Linked DNA regions of Homo sapiens: region 1 is linked to region 2. The links are contacts of gene promoters, found by promoter capture Hi-C in human tissues and cell types (Jung and others, 2019). All regions are on one chromosome and are shown on one strand. Each heading gives the region's core, a stretch centred on a gene start or on the middle of the fragment in contact. The rest is flanking DNA. Distances are from core to core; before and after follow the strand shown.

Evidence for each region. The method cuts DNA at HindIII sites, captures the fragments that hold promoters and counts their contacts. A contact is called where the count stands out against the background at its distance.
Region 1: a contact is called between a fragment that was not itself captured here and the fragment with the promoter of SLC24A3 in region 2, in 2 of the 25 tissues and cell types used here (bladder and pancreas).

The regions. Positions count from the first base shown.
Region 1 is chr20:19,308,827-19,311,801 of GRCh38, forward strand. All of the region lies in intron 2 of SLC24A3 (solute carrier family 24 member 3), which reads left to right. Among named protein-coding and RNA genes, the nearest start is that of SLC24A3-AS1, 26 kb to the left of the region's middle. The HindIII fragment of the contact is 4,933 bases long and covers 1-2,975 here.
Region 2 is chr20:19,211,011-19,213,952 of GRCh38, forward strand. SLC24A3 (solute carrier family 24 member 3) reads left to right here and starts at 1,632. Exons shown (of 17, transcript NM_020689.4): 1 at 1,632-1,974. The coding sequence starts at 1,833. It overlaps LOC101929547 (a long non-coding RNA gene), which reads right to left and starts at 1,458. Exons shown (of 3, transcript XR_007067549.1): 1 at 619-1,458. RefSeq lists a silencer at 1,983-2,032. The HindIII fragment of the contact is 12,474 bases long and covers 1-2,942 here.

The sequences.
Region 1 (2,975 bases), core at 279-2,778, 98 kb after region 2:
CATCTAGGAACTCGACAAATGTCTGCAGAATGTGGTTGAATGAACTAAATGAAACATCTCTGCAAACGCCAGGCCATTTTGAAAAGTGATAAGCATTTGATTGATATCTTTCTAAGTAAATTTAATACGTTCTTGTCTGTGAGTCACAGTGCACGGAATGTGGATTGGACATTCTAGTGATAAATTGAAGCCATGGATTCGTGGAGGACATATGTTATTTTACCGTCTTGTAATTCAGACCAGGGCCTCCTTTTTTGTTGTCACTGTGTCCACTGTCACTTCCACTACTTCCTAGGTTTGTCTACCTTTAAAACTTTCACACCCTCAGATCTTCTAAAGTTTCATCCCGACAGCAGATCTATGGTTAGAACATAAACTTTAGTGTCAGGCAGATCAGACTTGAAATCCAGTTCCTCTCATTTTCTTGCTGCAGAACTTGATCAGCTTTCCTAACTTCACTGAATATGGGCTTCCTCATCTATCAGATAAAGGATCTGTGCTTGACCTGATGACATTACCAGTTCATTAAATTAGCTAATGTATATTAAGGGCCAAACCAGGTGGTTAGCATGTTCTCTTGCCTTCTGCTACTCAGTGTGGTCCAGGGACCAGCCTGGAAGTGTCAACACCTCTTGGAAGCTTGTTAGAAATGTAGAATCTCATACTCCACCCAAACCTACCAGACCTATGGAATCAGAATCTGCATATTAACTAGCTCCCCAGGTGGTACCTATGCACACTGAATTTTGGAAAACGCTGGCCTAGAGCTTCTATTTTTTCTCCTCTTTGGGAGGGATAACAAGATGTTAACTTTAGTTTGTCAAAGCTTCAGTTTTCTGGAAGGATGAGGGGTTCTAAGCATCATGAGAAGTGGCCTTCAAAAAGAGAGTTGGAACTTTTTGCAAGCTTCTTCTCTGTGTGGCAGCTTAATTTGAGATGGCCCTTTATTGTTCATTTCTTACCCATCCACATACCAACATAGAATCATCATTTGGGGGAATGTGAAGACAAGGGACTCCTCCTTGCACCCTGGGAGAGCTGGGCTTCCAGTCTGTGCTCCAAGCTTTCACGCCCCAGGAGTGACTCTGGGTCATTGGGACAGGTCAGGGCGGCAAAGCATCACACTCTTCCTGCTATCAGTGTCCGACCAGCCTGAGTCCCCATCCTGCACAGTGAAAAGAGTCCAGCAGGCACAATGGGCCTGAGCAGAGCCGGACTTGACATTGGAGGCAGCCCTGGGAGATGGTGCCTGGTGTCTTCGTGGAGTTCATTCCATCTTCTGGCTACTTCACCTAGGTGTCATGACATCTAATAACTGATTTTTCATTTTCTTGAACCGATAGACCCTTGCTTTCACATTACCCCTTCTAACATGTTTCTGCCACATTCTAAACCCTTGCTACTCAGAGTGTGGCCTCAGGCCCAGAGGCATCAGCAAGACTGAGAGCTTATTGGCCACACAGAAGCTCAGCCCCCACCAGGAAAATGCACTGAGTCTGACCATGAATTTCAAAAGTTCCCAGGTGGTCATGTGCACAGAAGACTTGGACAAGTGCTGAGCTAGTGTATGTTCAGTAAATATTAATTTTCTCTTCCATTTTTAAACCTGGTGTATGAAATAAAAATCAATAAGGCTCTGAATGAGAGCTTGAGAAATGAGAAGCTCAATATCAGGGCAGGAATTCCATGAGGACTGTCTATTCTCTGGTCCAGGCCAGTTCTCTGGAAGGTCCGGGTTGCTTCAGGACTGACCTGCGGCTACCTGGGAAGGAAACTTACTGCTCCAGCCACTGTTCTTCCTCATAGATGTCTGCAGCCTATGAAGCCTTGCTGAGACAGTCATTATCTGTGCTGCAGTCATTCAGGGCAGCAAGCATATAAACAGAGCTTGATGCTGCCTTCAGCTTCCAGTTACATAACCTCACTTTGGAGTCATACTTTCCAGATGTTGTGTATGGACATGCTCCCTTCTTGCACTACCTGTTTCTTTAGCCACATTCAACTTTTGGGGGAAAGGTCTAAAGACAAGCTCCAAGGACAGCCAGCATGCTTTAAATCTGAAATAAAGCCTTTTTTGAGCTTATAATCATGTTTATTTGCTTTGCTGGAGTCTTTCTGAAAGCTTTTCATTTCTTTTTTATTCCCCCTCTATGTAATCTTCCTTCGTTCCTTTCTTCCTTCCTTGCTTCCATCCCTCCTTCCCTTTCCTTCCCTTTCCTTCCTTCCTTCTTGCCTTCCCTTCCTTTTTTCCTTCCTTGCCTTCCCTTCATTTTTTCCTTCCTTTCTTCCTTTAGTGGAGAAGCACAGTTTGGGGTCACTGGAGCTTGGGTTTTGGTTACTCATATGTGTGTAGAGACTTGAGTTCAGATTTGCGAGGAATTTGGGCATGAACCTAAACCTCATGTTCAAAGGCTCAAGGCTTCAAGAGAACCCCAGGCTTGCAGTCAGCAACTTTTGGCCAGCAGGGCCCGCGGATGGGTTCTCTGTATGTGGTGGATCATTCCAGGGCCCCACACAGGAAATCAGGATGAGGTCACTCAACAGCCCCATGCTCCTTCAGCTTTCATGCTGGTCCAGGCATTCTGCTAATGGTGGGAAGGTTTGGAGAAAGAAGAGATACAGTCCCAGCCCTCAGGGATCACATGCGGAAGGTAGTGGGGAGAGGAATCCAGCTACATCCACTCAGAGTGATCAATGCTGTACTACAGGTGTGCACGTTGGCCCCCACAGAGGGCCAGGATGGGGCCTCCCATCCTGGGAGGTGTGGGGTAAAGGAAGGCTTCCAGGAGGAGGCAGTGTTTGAGTCAACAAGTGTCCCCAAAGGAAAACAGTTAGATCAGATTTCACCAGGGAGGATGATGGTACTCATTTGAGGAGGTGGAAGCCATGAAGTCAAGATAGCCTGTTAGTAACAACAGTATGCAGCTCTCTTTTTTCCCCTATGGCCAGCAGGGAATTCATCTGCCACACTTACT
Region 2 (2,942 bases), core at 382-2,881:
CAAAGGAAAAGTCTCTGGTCTCCCTGGGTGAGATGGCCTTTCTCTGGAAAGGAGGCCACCTATAACCACTTCCTTTGCCCTTTGCTGTGACCTTGCTGTCCCCGGGCGCTGTCAGGGATTGTCTGGGAGGAGGTCGGGGGGGGTAGGTCAGTCACAGGTGGGGACACATTTGAACAGACCTAGACAGGGGAGCCTTATACAGAGGTTCTCTGCTTCCTTCCCACCTCCTTAGGGTATGAAGCTAGATTCCCTGATCTGAATGGATTCCATGGAGACAGTCACCTAGACAGACACCTGGTTTCAGGTGATCCCTTTCTGGACAAGGTCTTTTGTTTTCAGCGCCCCCCCACCCTCCGCCCCAACAATGGCATCTCCTCCTCAGCCCAGCCAGCAGCCCCAGGCTAGCATCTGGGAAGAGTCCAGGGAAGCCCAATGAGGGAGAGTGGGCTGTGTCTGGGATGGCCAGGGATCCCCTCCAAATGGGCACCTGCGGCAGGTCGTGAGTCCAGCCATCTCTAGGGCAGCCCACACCTTCAGCAAGGAGGGGCAGGAGACCTAGAATGGGGGAAATGGGAGGACTAAGATTCTAACGTTGGAGGTAGGGCAGGCTGGTGTTACCTGCACAAGGCCAGAAGCCTCTTCAGGCCGCCTCTCCAGGGACCGTGCCAGCTGTCCCCACTTCGATCAGCCACAGTATTGGACTTGGTCCAGCACGAACAGAAAGCGAAGTGTGAGCCCAAGACAGAGGGGGGAGCCGGACACCCTTATGGAACTAACAGCCTCTGGGGAGGCCTGTTCCAGATCCCGAGTCGGGCGCACAGGGGGATCCCCGCAAGGGGGCAGAGGGAAACCCGGGAGGCCCGCGAGAAGAGGCGAGGCCAGAGGCTGGGCGCGGGCAGCCAAGCGCACTCGCGGCGCCCCGACTCCAGGTAGCACGTAGAGAGGAGGCTGAAGAGCCCCTCGGTTTTCCGAAAGTTTCCAGCGAATCCTTCTTGGTGAAGATCGGCCTCTGGGAGGCAGCGTGTGTGCTTCCCGAGAGGGGGCCCCCTGCGCCGTCCCTCTTCCCCTGGCACAGAAGGGTTGAAGGACTGCACACAGGGATCCCTCCCCAGCCCAGTCTCCTCCCAGCGCGCCCCCTCCCCGCCATGCCGGCCAGCGCCGGGCTGTGTCCCAGGCACTGCCCCCCGCCAACCCTGGCCCGACCAGCCTCGCCGCTGCAGGCTGCCGGGAGCTGCGCTAGCTCATGCTCCCAGCTCGCTCGGTGCTCCCTGTTCGCTCCGGCCCGGCCCCGGCCCCCATCGCGCCGACCATGGAATAGGCGGGCGGCCCCGCGAGGCGCTCCTGCAGCCGGCGAGGCCAGAGCCAGTCCGGGGTGGCTTTGCCAACCGGCGGAGTTGGCCAGCGGCGGGCCCTCCTACCGTCGGTCCTTCCCCGCTCCTCCTCCTCTGCCCCCTCCGCCCCCGCCTCCCGGCCGCCCCCGCCGCCCCCGCCGCGCCGCCGCCCCAGGCCGAGCGCGGGCGCGGAGCGTGGGAGCCATGGCGCGCGAGGAGGAGCGGGACCCCGAGCGCCGGGAGGCGGCGGCGCGGGCGAGCGGCGAGGAGGAGGAGGAGGGAGGGGAGGAGGGACTGGGCGATAGCGACGAGGAGGGCGACGACGAGGAGACGGGCAGCGGCGAGGAGGAGGAAGAGGAGGCGGAGGCGGCGGCCGGGTGGGAGCGCAGCGAGGACGCGCGGCTGCTGCGCGCAGGGCTGCCTCCTGCCGCTGTCCCCGCCGCGGCCGCCCGCGACAGGAGCGGCCGCCGCCCGCCGAGGCCGCCGCCCGGCCGCCCGAGGATGCGGCCGTCCGGCGACGAGGACCGCGCGCGTCGCCGCCGCCGCCGCCGCCGCCGGAGGGACCTTCTGCTGAGCCAGCTCTGCTTCCTGGCCTCGGTGGCGCTGCTGCTCTGGTCGCTGTCGAGCCTGCGAGAGCAGAAGGGTGAGTGCACGCTGCCTGCCCCGAGTGGGCGCTGCGGCTCCGGCGGCTCGGGGCTCCCGGGGCTGGGCGCGGGGCTCCTTCGGGCGGCCCGGCCGGAGCCCCAGGATAAGCGGGCTGGGTTGGCGGGGGGAGTGGGATGCCAGGCACGAGGACTCCCCCTGCCCCACGCAGAGGCATGGAGGTGGGGACCCTGAGCGCCAGCAGCCAGCAGGCTTAGGCGTCTGGCCGCCCTGGGAACATTTACCTGTGCCCGCCTGTGCGCTGCTTACTCGCGAGCTGGAGGTACTGCTGGTGGCGGTGGTGGGGAGTCTTACTCTCCATCAGCCCCCAAGGCCAGGGATAAAGTTGTGGTGGTAGACCCGGCACCTGTGCAGGTGACCACCTGTATACTCCTTGGCTTGCTGAAGGATTCAAGGGGACTGCTTAACACACAGTTGTCCGTATGTTCTCCATCCAGAGAGCAGGCGGGATGGCCCGAGTAGAGAGCTCTTCAACCCCCTTTCAGAACAGGTGCCGGGAACTTCAGGGAGAGAAAAAGTGTTGGCCCTCCAGCTATGGGCTAGTAGGGGACTTGTTCTCCTAAAATGACCACTCACTGGGAAGACAGGGAATTCTTCCTCAGAGGTCCCTTTTGCAGAGCTGCTGCTGTGGAAGAAATGGTTTGCAGTGGACCACGCATCACACTGTCCGCTCCTCTACCGGTGCTCTGCGCAAAGTCTGCCCTTTAACCCACAACTTTTGTCTTGTCTTTGTCCTTGGCCTTTCTTGAGCTGAAATAGATCTTGTGTGCTCCCAACAGTTGTCTGCTGAAACAGCTTCGATCCTGGGATTCAGCTGTCTATAAAATGAAGGAAAAACATGGGAGAATAACTGTTGTAAAATGGTTTTATATCCCGGCCGTGGAAGTGGCACGATTAGTGGGAAAACAGCCATGTAAAGGGTTGTGAGAAAGAAACAAAACAAAACAA